Regions from separate parts of the Homo sapiens genome. Here all the other regions are linked to region 4. Evidence: promoter capture Hi-C in 16 types of primary human blood cells and fetal thymus (Javierre and others, 2016). All regions are on one chromosome and are shown on one strand. Each heading gives the region's core, a stretch centred on a gene start or on the middle of the fragment in contact. The rest is flanking DNA. Distances are from core to core; before and after follow the strand shown.

What was found. The method cuts DNA at HindIII sites, captures the fragments that hold promoters and counts their contacts. A CHiCAGO score of 5 or more calls a contact.
Region 1: a contact is called between a fragment that was not itself captured here and the fragment with the promoter of SEPTIN3 in region 4, in 1 of 17 cell types (naive B cells). The highest score is 5.5, in naive B cells.
Region 2: a contact is called between a fragment that was not itself captured here and the fragment with the promoter of SEPTIN3 in region 4, in 1 of 17 cell types (M1 macrophages). The highest score is 5.4, in M1 macrophages.
Region 3: a contact is called between a fragment that was not itself captured here and the fragment with the promoter of SEPTIN3 in region 4, in 1 of 17 cell types (M2 macrophages). The highest score is 5.6, in M2 macrophages.
Region 5: a contact is called between a fragment that was not itself captured here and the fragment with the promoter of SEPTIN3 in region 4, in 14 of 17 cell types (M0 macrophages, total CD4 T cells, endothelial precursors and 11 more). The highest score is 10.4, in M0 macrophages.
Region 6: a contact is called between a fragment that was not itself captured here and the fragment with the promoter of SEPTIN3 in region 4, in 3 of 17 cell types (total CD8 T cells, naive B cells and naive CD8 T cells). The highest score is 6.0, in total CD8 T cells.

Annotation. Positions count from the first base shown.
Region 1 is chr22:41,660,988-41,663,923 of GRCh38, reverse strand. It overlaps XRCC6 (X-ray repair cross complementing 6), which reads right to left. Exons shown (of 13, transcript NM_001469.5): 12 at 2,480-2,593; 13 at 1-302. The coding sequence ends at 109. Among named protein-coding and RNA genes, the nearest start is that of SNU13, 26 kb to the left of the region's middle. The HindIII fragment of the contact is 4,603 bases long and covers 1-2,936 here.
Region 2 is chr22:42,274,296-42,276,995 of GRCh38, reverse strand. It overlaps a transcript of TCF20 not described here and the pseudogene OGFRP1. Among named protein-coding and RNA genes, the nearest start is that of TCF20, 5.0 kb to the right of the region's middle. RefSeq lists enhancers at 537-1,333, 1,334-2,130. The HindIII fragment of the contact is 1,106 bases long and covers 793-1,898 here.
Region 3 is chr22:42,362,712-42,365,573 of GRCh38, reverse strand. It overlaps LINC01315 (long intergenic non-protein coding RNA 1315), which reads left to right. Exons shown (of 2, transcript NR_120597.1): 2 at 849-1,174. Among named protein-coding and RNA genes, the nearest start is that of LINC01315, 5.1 kb to the left of the region's middle. RefSeq lists enhancers at 1-273, 1,784-2,437. The HindIII fragment of the contact is 271 bases long and covers 1,172-1,442 here.
Region 4 is chr22:41,967,994-41,970,693 of GRCh38, reverse strand. It overlaps SEPTIN3 (septin 3), which reads right to left and starts at 1,251. Exons shown (of 12, transcript NM_001363845.2): 1 at 1,017-1,251. The HindIII fragment of the contact is 14,934 bases long and covers 1-2,700 here.
Region 5 is chr22:42,458,348-42,461,195 of GRCh38, reverse strand. No RefSeq gene overlaps it. Among named protein-coding and RNA genes, the nearest start is that of NFAM1, 27 kb to the right of the region's middle. The HindIII fragment of the contact is 4,963 bases long and covers 1-2,848 here.
Region 6 is chr22:41,692,765-41,695,639 of GRCh38, reverse strand. It overlaps the pseudogene C22orf46P. Among named protein-coding and RNA genes, the nearest start is that of MEI1, 5.3 kb to the left of the region's middle. The HindIII fragment of the contact is 7,463 bases long and covers 1-2,875 here.

The sequences.
Region 1 (2,936 bases), core at 155-2,654, 310 kb after region 4:
GTCGGGTAGACTCTTCCTAGCTCAGGAGAAACACATTTTAACTGGCTGAGGACAAGGCCAGGCAGCCTGGCCACACTGCGGAAGGGCAGCTGGACGCGCGGCCTCTGGTCAGTCCTGGAAGTGCTTGGTGAGGGCTTCCAGCAGCTCCTGCTTCTTCAGCCCACTCTTCAGCCCGTAAGCCCGGCAGGCCTCTTTCAGCATGGGCACAGTGAACTTGCCCAGCGTACCCTTGCTGATGTGGGTCTTCAGCTCCTCTTCTGAATACTCCACCTTGGGCCTTTTGCTTCCAGAACCTTCATTATCTGGGGGGAAAGGTCAGGAGAGAGTGACTGGAAATGCTACATACAAGTGGCATCCCAGCTACATGGCATGGGGGACCTCGTATAATCTGGGCTGCAATTAACCATAAAGCTGTGATGCCAGCCTAGGACACCATGGGGAAGACTTATCTCGATAAGGTAGCTTCATTTAAAGTGCAAAATAAAACACAGATCACACCTAGGAGGAAATTACAAGTAGTGTGAATGCCATCAGTTTACCCAAAACTGTTGCTCACTCTGGGTAAGTCATTCCTTCCTTCCTTTGAAAATCTTTTACAGGTTCATGACCAGCCTTGGTAATACAGTGAGACCCTGGCTCTAAAGTAATAAAATCAACCGGCCATGGTGGTGTGCACCTGCAGTCTCAGCTACTCAGCAGGCTGAGGCTGCAGGATCACTCGAGCCCAGGAGGTTGAGGCTACAGTGAGCCAGTGAACTGTGATTGAGCCACTGGACTCCAGCCTGGGTGACAGAGCAAGACTGTCTAAAAACAAAAAAAGGATATAACTTCTGTATCATTTTTGAGATGGAGTCTCACTCTATCACCGAGGCTGGAGTGCAATGGTGTGGTCTCGGCTCACTGCAACCTCTGCCTCCCGGGTTCAAGGGATTCTCCTACCTCAGTCTCCCAGGTAGTTGGGACTACAGGCGCCCACTACCACATCTGGCTAATTTTTGTATTTTTAGTACAGACGAGGTTTCACTGTGTTGGCCAGGCTGGTCTTGAACTCCTGACCTCATGATCCGCCCACCTCAGGCTCCCAAAGTGCTGGGATTACAGGTGTGAGCCACCGCACCTGGCCAACTTCTGTATCATTTTAAATAGAAATTAAAAAAATTAAGTCCTGGAAGGGTGAGAGTGCAGGAAAACATTCACTCCTTCTTGGATAGAGGGTAAATCACTGTTTTGGAAGCAATTCACTGCAAGAATGCATCCTGTGGATCTATTCACACAAGAACACGATGGAAATGCATGTTCACTGCAGCATATCCACCTGTCAATACAGGTCTGGTTAAATAACCTGGTATATCTATCCAATGAACTACTCTGCAGCCTCATTTTTTAAAAAATGAGATAGGTAAGTGTGGATATAAATAACTGTCCAACATATATAGCTGAGTAACAAAAATAGCAAACTAGAAAACAATGTATTATTCCATTTGTGCTGAAATATGTATGTTGGTATGTGTAAATATGTATGGTTGTATAGACAGTTCTTTTCTAAAATTTTTTCATTTTTAATTTTTGTGGGTACATACTAGGTATATATATTTGTGGGGTACCTGAGGTATTTTGATACAGGCATGCAATGTGAAATAATCACATCAGCATAAATGGGGTATCCATCCCCTCAAGCATTTATCTTTTGTGTTACAAACATTCCAATTGTATTCCTTTAGTTATTTTTAAATGTACAATTAAATTAGACTATAGTCACTCTGTTGTATTATCGAATAGATCTTAATCATTCTATTTTTTTTTTGTACCCATTAACCATCCCCACCAACCCCACAATGCCTCACTACCCTTCTCAGCCTCTGGTAACCATCCTTCTATGCTCTCTCTCCATGAGTTCAATTGTTTTGATTTTTAGATTCCACAAATAAGTGAGAACATGTAAATGTCTGTCTTTCTGAGCCTGGCTTACTTCACTTAACATATTATTGCAAATGACAGGATCTCATTCTTTTTTATGGCCGAATAGTACTCCATTGTGTACGTGTACCACATTTTCTTTACCAGGCATCTGTTGATGGACACAAGTTGCTTCCAGATCTTGGCTATTGTGAATGGTGCTGCAATAAACATGGGAGTGCACATATCTCTTTGATATATTGATCTCCTTTCTTTTGGGTATATACTGACTGGATCATATGGTATGCTGGATCATATGGTAGCTCTAGTTTTCACTTTTTGAGGAAACTCCCAACTATTCTCCATAATAGTGGCTGTACTAATTTACATTCCCACCAACAGTGTATGAGGGTTCCCTTTTCTCCACATCTTTGCCAGCATTTGTTATTGTCTGTTTTTTGGATAAAAGCCATTTTAACTAGACTGTGAATAGATATTTCTGAAAGGATATTGCCCACTGTGATAAGACTATCATAAAAGCAATTTTTAAAAATAGCCCACATGTCCACATTCAGCTTCTCACCGTGTTTTCTCTTGGTAACTTTCCCTTCAGGATTGTAATCTGGTGGGTAAACAAGCTCCTTAAACTCATCCACCAAGGAGCCCAGTCTTTTATTCATTGCTTCAACCTTGGGCACTAGAAAATCAAAACACAGAAGAGTGGCCTGGTGAGTCACGAGCCCCAGCTTGCTGTCCACTTCCAGAACTCTCTGAGAACCAGAAGAGAGAGCACCTAACTGCTAAGGTGGGAGGGGTCTAGGGAAATGTCTTTCCAGCATTTACCAAGTACCTTCCAACACCTGCATTTACTGTAATTACACATACTACCGCCAGGCACTGTTGTAAATGCTTTAAACTTACTCTATTTACTCCTTCTAACAACCTATAGGATAGGTAAATTTGTCCCCAGTTTTTTTTTTTTTAGATTTTTTTTTGAGATGGAGTCTTGCTCTGTTGCCAGGCTGGAGTGCAGTGGCGCG
Region 2 (2,700 bases), core at 96-2,595, 310 kb before region 4:
TCAGGACCCACTGACAGACTTCTGAGCCAGGGGGAGCAAAGTTAAAACCGGCTTTGGATAACTGTAATGAATCCGCCACAGGGATGGGTGGGCAGGGAAAAGTGGCTCCAGTCGAGGACCAGTTAAGAGTTGGAGAATTCACGGCTCCTGCTGCTTTCTGCTCCCCTGGAATCAAACGTGATTTTGCAATTATCCCCGAGAGCTCGCAGGGAGATGCAGGGCAGTGATGAGGAACCTCACACGGCGTGGCTGCTTCCAGAAGACAATCGCCTTGGCATCAGGGCAGCTATCCCCGAGTCACTAGAGGGAGAGACGGAGTTGATTAAGCATCGGCATCTGCGTTTCTTGGCTTCTCCTATTGAGAAGGCAGCATCCAGCTCTGCATCCCTGCACCTGTGTCCTGGTGCCTTCTATTAATAAGTGGCCCAGGAATCTTGACGCTGAAGGACCAACCTGTGGCAGAAGATGAGCAGAAACATTTCTGTCAAATGCCCAGCAAACAAGACTCCACGCCTCCGTGGGGAGCCAGCACATAAGAGTCAGGACTCTTGAGGACCTGAGGACAAATCCCAGCACCACCACTTAGCAGCTGTGCACCTTCGAGCATCTTCTAAGTGACTCTGGGCCTCCATTTCTTCACTTGTGAAAATGGAGGCTGCCCTGGTGTTGTGAAGGTTAAGGTTAAGTGACATATATGGATCCCCAAGCACAGGGAACACTGGAGGCTCAGGAAGTAGTGGCCGTTATCATGGCTGCGTTTTTCTCCATGGTTTGAATTCTTAGCAGGAAGCTTCGGTTTCAGGCTTAAAAATGAAGAGCATGTCAACAAAACAGGATGGAACAAAGTCTTTTCCCAGCATGCCTCAGCATGTGGCACTGCCTTCCCGTGGAGCCCAGACAATGATGTGGCTAAAAGTCTTGAGCTTTCAGGCAGAAATAATCCCAAAGGAAAGGAACTTCCTTATTGTCATCTTATAACAAAGCAACGCAGGGGCCCTGTAGCCTGTCAGATTCAGCTCTGCCCCCTCCGAGCTGCTCTGTGCCTCAGTTTCCTCATCTGCAAAATGAGGCGAGAACAGTACCCACTTTATAGGGTTGTTGTAAGGATTAAGCAAGTTACTGCAGGAAAAGCGCTTAGAGCATGCCTTTGTCACTGCGACTCTTAGATCATTTCATATTCAGGTTAACTCTTTGTAGTGCCCTGAGTGACTCTGTGGGGGCTTTGGAGCCAGAAGACTGAGTTCAAATCACAGCCTCTTCCTAGCTGTGTGACCTGGGCAAGTCTCTTAACCTCTGTGTGCACCCATTTCCTGCTCTGTACAATGAAGATGACAATCCCTGCCTCATGGGTTTGTTGTGAGGAGTGAATGGGATCACTCAGGTAAGGGCGCCGACTCCCCTGAGGCAGGCAGCTCACCTGGCCCCTCCCAGCCCAATTTACAGCTGAAGAAATTGGATGATTTAAAGACACACACTGGTGAGACCAGGCTGGCGCCAGCTCAGTGACTGGCCCGATGAGAGTCCAGCCACTGGGGACAGTGAGTGCCGGGCAGGTGGGGGTGATCTGTGCGCTCAGGTTGCACGGGCTTCCCGTTTCTTGGCCTATCCTCAGGTGTTAGCTCTCTGCTCACCTGTGGGGAAGATGTGTAAGTCGATTCACAGCAGCTGCTGCTTGTTGGGCAGACCGTGGTCTTCCAGGCATGGGGTCCGAGAGTCTGAGGCCCCCCGACCTGCCCGAGCTGCCCAGTGTCCAGGGCTTAATATATGACTGCTGGAGGGGCTGGCGCTGCCCATGCCGTCCTCTTACATTCTTTCCCTATCGGCCTGCAGACTTTTGGTCCTACTGACTGTCTAGGTCCATCTCTGTCTTTCCAGTGTTTGCTGAGTGCTGGGAAGCTTGGTGGTTAAGAGTGCAGCCTCTGAAAACCTGGGTTCAAATACCAGCTCAGCCTCTTCCAAACTGTGTGACTTGGGATAAGTTAAACTCTTTGCACCTCAGTGGCCCCATCTGTAAAATAGGGGTGATAACAGTACCAAACTCATTAGACTGCTGCAAATAAGAAGAACTGGGATGATAAAGGGAAATCTGCATAGTGCCTGGTTCATAGTAAGCCTGGATTCCTCTGGGCTGTATCATCCTCATTAACATCATTTTAATGGACATGGTGCCCTACCCTGCACAGGATGCCGGAGACCCAAGAGAAGCAGAGGTGTCTCTGCCCTGCATATGCTCACAGTCCAGGGGGAGAGATGGATGCATCCCAGATTAGGATGCCACACTTCTATCCTGGAGGGCAGAGTGGAGGGGCAAACCTGGAGAGCAGAAGTTTCTGTGGGACCCTGTGAAACAAATCCATGCCAAACATGTCAATGCTCTAAGGCCCTGCAGGATCCCACCCTTGCCCAACTCCGCAGCTTCATCTTTTTCCCCTGCACTGGGCACAGTCCTCCTGGGCACAGCAGGTGGCTCTCCCCCACACCCCTAAGTCTTGGTATTCTCTGGTCCTCTGTTTTAAGGCCCTCCCCACCACCATAACTTTAGAGCCTCCCCTGACCTTGCCCCAGAAAGAACTGTTCTGAGCCCCCATGCTCCCTCCATGCGGGCTCAGAGACTTGCACAAAGCAGGGGCTCCTGTGGAATGAGGGCACAGAATGAGGGCGTGCCCACAGAGGCTCTCCACCCCTGCTGTTTGTGCACTC
Region 3 (2,862 bases), core at 58-2,557, 390 kb before region 4:
CAGGAGGCCAGGACCCTGCTCCATCTGTGACCTGCGGGGCTCCCCCAGGCTCCAGGGGTCCCCATTACCAGTCGCAGGGAGGCAGGGCTCCTAGGCAAAGCCATTTCCATTTCTGCACTTGATGGCTCCTTGAAGCCCAGCCTGCGTGTAAATGAGTTCCACCCTGTGCTTTTGTTGGCAACTGTCGGCTCCCTGGAAGCAAGGGGCTTTGTCAGGAAGAACAAAGCTGTGCGGTGTTTTTCTGATTTGGGGGAAAGCGTGCTCCTGGGGGAGGGCTCAGCGCTTCTCAGTGTCGGTCTCCAGCCCTGGTTCTCAGACTTGCTGGTTTTGTTTTGGGTTCTTAAGTCCTATGGCTTAAGAGTCACATATGTTTGTGTGTGTGTTGGCTGAGGGTTTTTTTTTTTTTTTCCTCCTTTTTGGCTTACATAGCGTTCCAGAGACTGAACTTCTCAAATCACTGCTTCAACAGCTTTTAAAAATCTGGACCTAGTTACTCCTGTCATCTATGTGTAAAGATTTAGAAAAAAAATCCCAAACCCAAGGGTGGGCAGCCGCGAGGATGTACAGCTCCTGGCAGTGTGCGCTCACCCGGAGACCTGAGGTCAAAGCCCAAATGCTGAGCACCTCCTGGGAGGCGGGAGCATGGTCTGCTCAGTGCCAGACATCTGGATATTGAGAAAACATCTGGGTAGCTGGGGTTTTCAGGTTTCTGCCTGACATTTAATATCACAAACATTGAGCCTGCTCCTGTCCCCCACCAGCCACGCGGCTTCTCCTCCCAAACATACCCAGCTCCTTCCCCTGCCTTCCTGACGGGTAAGAAACATCCATTCTTTCCAATTCCCCAGCGTTTTCCCCCTACCGGAAATCTGATGGGCTTATGACATCATGGCTGGCTGCTGAGCGATGAAGTGGATGCCACAAAGAAATCCGACATATCAGATAGATTCTGAAATCGGTTTCCCTCCAGCTGTAGTAACAGGCGTGAAGTCAGGAGAATTTGAGCTTTGTTTAAAAAATAAATAAATAAATAAATAAACCATAACAAAGTCTTGCCCTGTATTAAATGCAATTTTCTTAAAAACAAGCAAACCTTTTGGACATCATTTTATTTTAATAGAAATGCTGAGTTTTATGAAACTAAAGTGGCTAATAAATCAGACCTGAAGCTTTGTGTGAGTGTTCCATTTCTGTTGAGTGTTTGTGTCCTTATTCACTAATAAAAGAGGAGCTAGGAATGGTTTATCTCTCTTCATTATTCAAATGAGATAGCCTTTTTTTTTTTTTTAGGCCAATAAAATTCACAGGGTAAATTGCTGGTTTATGTTTTTCCAGGAATCCATTTTTATGGAGCGACCCTGGACCTCACCGGTCTGCAGACACTATATTCCCCTTTGCTGGTTTTCCTGGCTGTGAAGCCCTTAAGAGAATGCAGTAAAGCTTTTCAGTCTCCTGGCTGGGCTCAGGGGATAACTGGCTGTCAGCAGGGCGGGACCAAGACCAGTGGGCCAGGCGCTTCTTGGAATGAGAAGCCTCTTTGAAAGGAGAGAGTCAAGAGAGGAACAGAAGTAAAGGGACCTGGGGCTGGGCGCGGTGGCTCATGCCTATAGTCCCAGCAATTTGGGAGGCCAAGAGGGCAGATCACCTGAGGTCAGGAGTTCAAGACCAGCCTGGCCAACATGGCGAAACCCCATCTCTACTAAAAATACAAAAAATTAGCCAGGAGTGGTGGTGCACGCCTGTAACCCCAGCTACTTGGGAGGCTGAGATAGGAGAACTGCTTGAACACGGGAGGCAGAGGTTCCAGTGAGCCGAGATCGCGCCACTGCACTCCAGCCTGGGTGACAGAGCAAGACTCCATCTCAAAAAAAAAAAAAAAAAGAAGAAGAAGAAGAAGAAAAAGTAAAGGGACCTGGGACATGAAGCCTAGGGGCCTGGGAGGGGGAATCCATTTTCTTCCTCCTCAAAAGACAGCAAGGACCTCAGAAATAACTCCAGGCTGAGGGGGCCTCAGTATTCACCTCGGAAATAGGCTTGGGTGCAAGATTGCATGTGTCGTGCCTGCCAAGCACCCAGCACAGGGACGTCCCAGACCTGGGCTGAGGTCCCAGCTGCTCCAGAAGCAAACTTCGGGGCCCTGAGCAAGTCACACCACCTTTCAGCTTCTTTCCCTGAAAGTGGACACAATGGCCCCCACCCTGCCTGTTGGGAGAACAGTAGTGCTGGATGTGTCACACAATGCCCAGCTCTGAGGGCATCCGAGGCTCTGAGGGCACCTCAAAGGGCTCCGAGGCCATTCTCATAGCTGGGAGAGGCCAGTGTGGATTCTGGAGTTGAATCCCCAGCCTGGGCTTGACTCCTGGCTCTGTCCCCTGCTATCTGCAAGACGACATTGATCTGTGTGACATTCGCTGTGCCTTGGTGTCCTCACTTGTCAAACAATAATAATAATAGGACCGGCCTCACACATGAGGCTGCTGTGAGGATGAACGGCCTCAGAAGGCCTGGACTGACCAAGCATTAGCCGCATGAGTGTGTCCTGGGCCCAGGAGGCAGGTTGCTGGCTAGGACCCTCCGGCCTAGGATGGGAGGGAGTGTACCAAGTCGAGCACAGGCGGAGGCTAATCAAGGACTGACAGGAACATCTACTCCTTTCTCTGCAGAACTTCCCATGACTCCAATCGCCCAAAGGGAATAAAATCCCCTCGTTTTCTGGGCCCCAGGCTCCTGTCCCCCAGGCCTCCTGTGCTGTTCCCCTCTCCCTCCCTGTGCTCTGTCCCTCCTCCCAGGCAGCTTTGGATGCAATGCTAACAGGCAGGTGATGTTTACTGAGCACCTGCCATCATGTTGTTCGCCACAGTT
Region 4 (2,700 bases), core at 2-2,501:
GTTCCTACAGAAGGCCCAAAGGTGAGAAAGTGTGGCATCTTTCTGAAAATCCAACATGGGGCTCCTAGGCTGTATGTAGCAGGGAGGGGAGAGCCAAGGCTGCAGGTGAGCTGGGGTCCAGGCCAGGCTACAGCAAAGTTTAGGCCAGGGAATGTGACCCATTCCGATCTGTAGGTGGGAACGGCCACTCGGGCAGTGTGACAGAGGGATCAGATGGGAACAGAATTGAAGCCAGGATCCCATGAGGACATAGTTGAAACTCTCTGCTCCGTGGGCTGTGCAAGGGGCAGAGCTAGGGCTGGGGCTGGAGGAGGCTGCATTGCACAGGGGTAGAAGTGGCGGGACTGCCCAGGGTAGGGAGTGGGCACAAAGAGGTGTCGAGGATGAAGCTCAGGACTCTGGCTGTGGTCTTAGTAGATGGGCCACTCCCTGCTACTCTGGACTCCAAGTAACTCACCCTCTAGAAAAAAGTTGGTTTGGTTGCTTTTAACACAGCAGGCTGGGACCTGCAGCTGGGGGACAAGGCCAGGGCTGGTGGGAGGAGTCAGTTCCAGAGGGCTCATGGGGAGGGGAGTGATCATGTAGCCAGGTCCTTGAGGTCTGCAGCAGGGACGGGGAAGGCAGGGCACCGGACAGGGAAGGCATCACCCCTCACAATGGTGCCCCCAGCCCCTCATCCCTCTCCAGCCATATATTTGTATCCAAGACTGTCCTGGCCTCCAACCCTTTCCCACCTGGCCTATCACTGCAGCCCTGAACTTCTGCCCCCTCCTGCACAGCCACATCCACTTGGGCACACACGTTTACCCTGCACTTAGCCACAAACAGCTCCCCTCAGTGTGCACACCCACACACAGAGCAGGCCAGAGGACAGGGTGTCCGAGGGCATCACCCGACTCCCCATCCCCTCACTGCACTCCCATCTTCCATGGATTGCTTGGTCCTTCCCCACCCCACCCCCACCACCCTCCCACCCCCACAAACCCCCACACCCTTCCACCCCCCTACACACCTACCTTGATCAGAGGACAAGAAGGATCCAGTGTGTCTGGGAAGATAAGGCACACGCAGGCCCCTCACCTCCCCTGCACTCAGAGTCTGGCCATGGTGGCCAGCTTAGGGGCCTTGTCCCTCTGGTCCCCTCCTCAGCTCCTGCTCAGCCTCCAGGCCACAGTCCCCAGGCACAGGGCCCAGCCCTCTGCTCACTGTCCCACCAGCTACATCCCCGGAGACCGTGCTGGGCTGGGCTCTGGTGCAGGGAGGGGCTGGCTTCCTAGGAGTGGGCGGCTGTGAATGGCTGCTCTGAGCCTCTGGAATCCTGAAGAGCCATGGGAGGCTGGTAACGGCCAGGCTGGCACTCACGGCCACCTGCAGGGAGGTTCCCTGCAGCCTGCCCTCCCCAAATCTGCTCTGTCTCCCACAGACTTTGATGCCTGGGGAGTCTGCAGTAAAAACAGGGGTACTCCAAATATGGCTGCACTCTGGTAGTCCCAGCGCGAGTCTCCCTCTGGCTCTGCCTCTGTGCCCTTCATGCCCTGTTCAGCTCTGCAACCCTCAGACCATCTTGCCCACTCACCTGGTCTTTCCTCAAGGGGGCTGGAGTTCCTGGAGGCTAGAGCTCCTTCCACAACTATTCCCTGAGCCCCAGCTTGCTCCAGCTGGACCCTGTACCCAGACCCTAAGGGTGTGAAGAGGACCCCGCCCTAGGCCTGCCCCTGAGGGGACCACAAAGCCACCCAGCCTGGCTCTGGCAATGCCGACTCTCAGCAGCCCCTGGCCCTGGGGCTGGGATGGGAGCCCTCTTCTGTGTTCCCACAGCCCTCGGCTGCCTCTGTCATAGCAGTGGTGATAATAACAATGGTGCTGATAACAGCTACTATTTCCTGAGCACTTGCTCTGTGCCCGGCACCATGCCAGGGCTGGGCGGAGCTCACAGTCTGCTAGGAAGATAGGTATGTAAACAGATCCTATAGTACTGTCCTGTACGGTGATGGCAGATGTCCTCCGAGCACTCACCCTGAGTCAGGAACTAGGCTAAGCATTCTCCTGGCATCTCCTTTAATCTCCGCCTCATCACCTGCTTTTTACCGAGGAGGACATTGCAGCCCACACAACACTGTGTTGTCTGGTCTGCTCTCCTGTGTGTCTCTCTCTTTAGCGAGTGAGCTTCTGGAGCTGCGCTGGGCAATACAACTTTCAGTGATAATGGAAATGTTCTATGTCTGTGCTGTCCAGTACAGTAGCCACTAGCCACAGATGGCTACCGATCACTTAAAATGTGTCTACAGTGACCAAGGAACTGGATTTTTTAGTTTATTTTAATCTGTGGCTACCATATTAGCTCAGCTCTGTTTCGTTTGTTGTTGCTGTTGTTGTTATTAGTTTTTTTGAACAGGGTTTCACTCTGTCGCCCAGGCTGGAAGACAGTGGCGCCATCATGGCTCACTGCAGCCTCTTGGGCACAAGTGATCCTCCCACTTCTGCCTCCAGAGTAGCTGGGACCACAGGCATGCACCACCACGCCCAGCTAAGTTTTTATTTTTTGTAGAGACGGGGGTCTCCCTATGTAGCTCAGGCTGGTCTCGAACTTCTGAGCTCAAGCAATACTCCTACCTCCACCTCCCAAAGTGCTGGGATTACGGTCGTGAGCCACCATGCCTGGGTGGAAAGCTCAGTTATGAAGGTCCTGGATCTTCTTCT
Region 5 (2,848 bases), core at 73-2,572, 490 kb before region 4:
AAGGGCTTTTCTGTGGGATGTCCTAAAGTTAGTTATGGTGACACAACTCTGTCAATATACTAAAACCCATTGACTTGCATACTTTAAGCAGGTGCATTTTACAGTATGTAAATTCAACCTCAATAAAGCTGTTTGTTGGTTTTGAGACGGAGTCTCACTCTGTCAACCAGGCTGGAGTGCAGTGGCGCAATCTCTGCTCACTGCAACCTCCGCCTCCCGGGTTCAAGCAGTTCTTGTGCTTTGGCCTCCCAAGTAGCTGGGATTACAGGTGTGCGCCACCACACCCAGCTAATGTTTGTATTTTTAGTAGAGCTGAGGTTTCATCATGGCCAGCCTGGTCTCGAACTCCTGATCTCAGGTGATCTTTCCACCTCGGCCTCCCAAACTGCTGGGATTACAGGGGTGAGCCACCACGCTTGGTCTGTTTGTTTGCTGTTTAAGTGTATGAGAATTATAGGGAGAAAACCTGCAAGGCACCCAAGCCCTGCTGGAGCTGGTCCTCCACGTGACCTTAATCTCTAGCCATAGCAAACTTCTTACTGCTCCTCTCAGGCACCACCATGCTCCACGGCGCCCATGACCTTCCACAAGCTGTCTCTTCTACCTGGGATGTTACTGCCGCCACCATCTCCCAGCCAACTCCTAGTTATCGTACAAAGCCTAGCTCTAACTTCGCTTTCTCCAGGAAGTTTCTGTGACCCTCGGTGAGTCTCGCAGTATCCTGGTTTACCTTTGCCACTGCTCCCATCACATCAAACTGACACTTTGTCCCATAGGACTGTCAAAGGGTCTTAGTCACCTCCGCATCTCTAGGACCTGTCTTGGTGCCTGGTACCTCCAAGATGTCAATGTTTGCTCAACTGGCCCCAGCTGATCTCGTGGGTCTCCTTATTGAATATTGAGCCCGCTACAGAAAGCAGGTGCTGCATCCGAGGAGCATTTAGGCGGCGCCAGCTCACCTCAAGCTACAGAAACATGTGGTCCTAATTCCTTCCTCGCTCTCCTCTTTAGCTTTTTCTTAACCTCTGATTTCAGTTACCAATTAGCAATTTAGCAAGAAACACCTTCTTTGTCTTTCCGAAATGTGTCTCTACTAAGGTACCTTTTCCTTGGGGTAAAAAAAAAAAATAGGGGACGGGATATACTAAGTGAATGGGGGAGGGGAGCCAATTAACATTCAGCTAAGAAAGAAAATGATTTCTCCTATCAGTAGTAAAAACTGACAGCTCTATCAGAAAACGAGCCCGGGGAGCCACAAAGCCTGGCAAGGCAGGGTGGGGAGGGAGGCGTCTGCAGCCCTAATCAGGAGTGATAAAGATGGCTGAGGGCAGAGTCCGCTGCTGGGAGCCAGGGAATCCAAAGGATTCAGGCGTCCAAAGGAATCACCTCGGGAGGTGGAACAGTTGCCTTCCACCTCCTCCCTCCTGTCTGATCTGGCCCCAGGCAAGAGGACTGGTACTATTCAGGTTTTATACCTGAAACTTACAGCTCCGACTCTCCAAACGGCCTCTCTCTATGCACTCCTTTCCTCTGACCTTATCATAAAAGGCGGCCACGTGCTGTCTATTCATGGTAGCAGGATGGTCTGGGGAGAGGAGGCTCCATGCGCGAATTCCAGGGTTGATGAAATTGCTCCGGCCCTCTGGATCTCTCCCCGCCATGAATGAATAAACGGGTTTGGGGGCAGGGTGGTGAAATCAAACTCCAGTGTTATCTGACATACAAGTTCTTTCTTGAGTGCCACATAGGTAATTTGTTATAAATCAGAGCTTAAACACCAGATCGGATTTCACAGAACTCAATTCCATCGCTTTAAGATGAGAAGACGTGCAGAGAAGGATGGGAGAAACACCCCCATTCGGCCTGGCAGAAAAGATATTTAGCGTTTTAAAATGTAACCATTGATCTTCTGCTTGAAATACAAATGCATTTTGCTAAAAAAGAAGACGTCAGTGAGATTGAGACAGGAAGTGATGGAGAGAAACCAAAGGCTCGAGCAGGTTGTTTAATTGGAAACAGCGAGAGGCTGTTTTCGGTCACATTTTGTGTACAGTTCCAGGCCACGCTCCCTCTCTCATATACGATCATGAAACATAAAGACACGGGAACAAGTTCAGTGCCTGAGAGCATCGACGCCTCCCTTGAGGTGTGTGTGTGCCCATCACCAGGATGTAGGGAAAAGGAATAGTCTCAGCCTGTGTACAGACTGGGATTTCTGCAGACGCTAGTCTTCAGCAGACACCAATGGGGGAATGCAGAGAGGTCCAGGCCCCGCATCTTCAGAGACTATAGCTCCGGGGCTGTGGTTTTCTGAATCACTCCCAAATGCTTTTGAACTGGGTTTTTTTTTTTTTTTTTTAATTAGGTTTCTTGTCTAAAATGCTCTACATTTTTAGTGTTCTTAGTACAGGAGGTATAACAAGGCAGTTAAGCATTTAATACTCAAGAATTGGGCTGGGCGCAGAGGCTCCAACCTGTCATCCCAGCACTTTGGGAGGCCAAGGCAGGTGGATCACCTGAGGTCAGGAGTTCGAGACCAGCCTGGCCAACATGGCGAACCTCTGTCTCTACTAAAAATACAAAAATTAGCTGGGCGTGGTGATGGGCACCTGTAATACCAGCTACTCTGGACGCTGAGGCAGGAGAATTGCTTGAACCTGGCCAGCAGAGGTTGCAGTGAGCCAAGATTGCATCACTGCACTCCAGCTTGGGCAACAGAGCGAGACTCCATCTCAATTAAAAAGAGAAGAAGAAGAAGAATGTGTCTTTCGAGATACACTGATGATTTTTGAGGTTAACAGCAAGGAAACGCTAGCTGTTGTAATAAATAAATCCCCTAATATAAATC
Region 6 (2,875 bases), core at 41-2,540, 280 kb after region 4:
ACCGTCCTCACCTCCAACTTCTCTCAGGTTTCTCTTCCCTTGTATCTGAATTTCTGCCCCATTCTCACCTCCAATCTGCTGATCTTTCTTCCATTCTGCTGAATGCATTTCTCCATCAATTTGACTTGTTAATTTGCCCCAGTTCCCTGACTCAGATATCTGGGTATGTGCACCATCTTCGCCTCTAATATGTTCCTGATTCTTCCCCTTTGGTATGTGAATCTTTCCACTAAATTCATTTCCTAACTGACCCTGATTTTTCCTCCCAAGTTCCTGGGTGTCTTTATCATCCTCACCTTTAACCTCTCTCCTCCCTAGTGACTGAATGTCTGTACCATCCTCTTCTCTAAGTGGCTCATTGCTCTGAGTCTCCACATCAGTTTCACCTTTTAATTGTTCCTGGATCTCAGCCTCGGGTGCCAGGATATTTGTGCCATCCTCACATCCATCCTTTCTTTGGTCTCTCTTCTCTGATGCCTGAATTTCTGCTCTATGTTCACCTCCAATCCAGTTCTGATTCTCCCAACATAGTATCTCAAATTCTCTATAAATTTCACTTGCTACTTGTCTCCGGTTTCCCCACCATAGTGCCTGGATCACCACCCAATCCTTCTCTTATCTCCCTGAGCTTCTTCTTGGTAGCTATCTGGGTTTCCTTAGCATCTTCATCTCTTCTCAGGCCCTTATTTCCCCACCCCACTTGAATTTCATGACTTAATTGTTTCTGGTTCTCTCCCCCAGATGCTTGGGTCTTCTTAGCTTTCTTACTTCCACCTTGATCATGCTTCTCCCACCTTGGTGTCTGGATCTCTGTAACATTCCCATTTCCAACACATTCCTGTTTTCCCCAATCCAAGGCCTGGGTCTCTACACTATTCTCTTTTTTTACTTCTCCCACGTTCTCCCTCCCACATGATTGGGTTTGTGCAGCATCCTGACCTCCAACCTGATCCTTGTTTCTCCCCTCTTCCATCTGAATTTCCACATCCGCATCACCTTTCATCTGATCTTGTTTCTCCCACTGTGGTGTCTGGGTCTCCTCACCATTCTCATCTCCAGTCTGGCCTTGCTTCCCCAATCCTTGAGCCTGGATCTCTTCCCCATCCTCCTCTCCAGCCTCTTTCTTGTCCTTCTTCTCAAATGTCTGGGTCTCCACAGCATCCTCACTTCCATTCTTATCCTGGTTCTCCCACTCAGGTGTTTGGGTCTCTGCATCAATTTTACATCTTAACTGTTCTTGGTTCTCTCCCATATGTGCCTGGGTTTCAGGGAGATTCTCACCTCCAGCCTCCCTCTGGTTTCTATTCCCTAGTTCCTGAATGTTGGTTCTACTCTCAACTCCCATCCGGTCCTGGGTGTCCCACCCTGGTGTCAAGATCTCGCCATCAGTTTCACTTATTACTAGTCTCTGGTTTGCACACTCCAACACGTTAGTCTCTGCATCACCCTCCATTCCAAAGTCTACTGGGAACTACTCCCCAGATGCCTGGATTTCTGAAGCATCCTCCCGTCTGCTCCCTGTCTGGTTCACCCACCTTGGAGCCTGGGTCTCTCTACTATCCTCTCTGCCTGCTTTCTGGTTTTTACCCCCTGGTTCCCAGGCCTCTGGTCGACAGTGCCAAGACTTCCAAGTGCACATTCTCAGTGTTTGGTGGGAAGGATCAGGCAGGAGCTCTCTGGGGGCAGAACTGCAGCCTCTCAGCTGAAAGTAAGTTTGGAAGAGAGGTGGTTAAGGTCATGGAGGTGGGGCGAGACCTCACACTGATGACAGGCTCCAGTGACACCAACCTTTCCTGTGAGTGAAGCAGCAGCTGCTCCATCTCTTGACACATGTCCAAGGCAGGGCGAGTCTGACCATCATGGAGACACCAAGGCACCTGCCATGCTTTCCAGGAACTGTTCTGAGGCAGTAAACAGGTGTTTGAAATGGAGGTGGTACAAAAGATGGGCTCAGAGTGGGTGTGGACACCCGAAGGTGGGCCTGGACATGGGTGCTGTGGAGAGAGCAGGTTCTGGGCCCATGATTCCTGGAGGCTCCTCCGGTATCCCCATCTCTGCCTTTGTGCGCATTGTTGAGAATCTAGGCCCCTGGACTTTCCAGGACTGAAGAATTCAGGAGTCAGCTTGAAGACAGTTTCGCACCTCATGGAGGGCACTGCCCGCTTCTGCAGTGGCACCTGTAGATGAGAACAGAGAAGCAAAATCCTTGCACACATAATAACTTGCATAATCCGCACAGACAGAATAGTCAGGAAAGGCTTCTTGGAGGAAGTGACATTTGACTGGAGCCTGAATGAAGTAAGGGGCAAACCAAGTGACATCTGAGGAAAGAGCGTTGTAGGCAGAAGAGACATTAAGTACAAAGGCTTGAGGATGGAACAAAATTACATGTACAGGAACAGCAAAGAAGACTGTGTGGCCAGAATGGAACCAGTAATGAGGAGAGCACTGGGAGATAAGATCGGAGACAAACATGGGACAGATTATGCTGGTCCTTAGAGTCGTGATTAGGAGCGAGAATTTTATTCTGAGTTTGCCAGATAATGTAAGTATAGGAGCCATTGCAGGGTTTTGAGCAGCTAAGTGCTATGTTCTGTTTCTAAAAGTTTGTTCTGATGGCAGGGCATGGTGGCTCATGTCTGTAATCCCAGCACTTTGGGAGGCCAAGATGGGTGGATCACTTGAGGTCAGGAGTTCCAGACCAGCCTGGCCAACATGGCAAAACCCCTTCTCTACTAAAAATACAAAAATTAGCCAGCCATCATGGCGCATGCCTGTAATCCCAGCTACTCAGGAGGCTGAGGCACAAGAATTGCTTGAACCCAGGAGGCGGAGGTTGCAGTGAGCCAAGATCACGCCACTGCAGTCCAGCCTG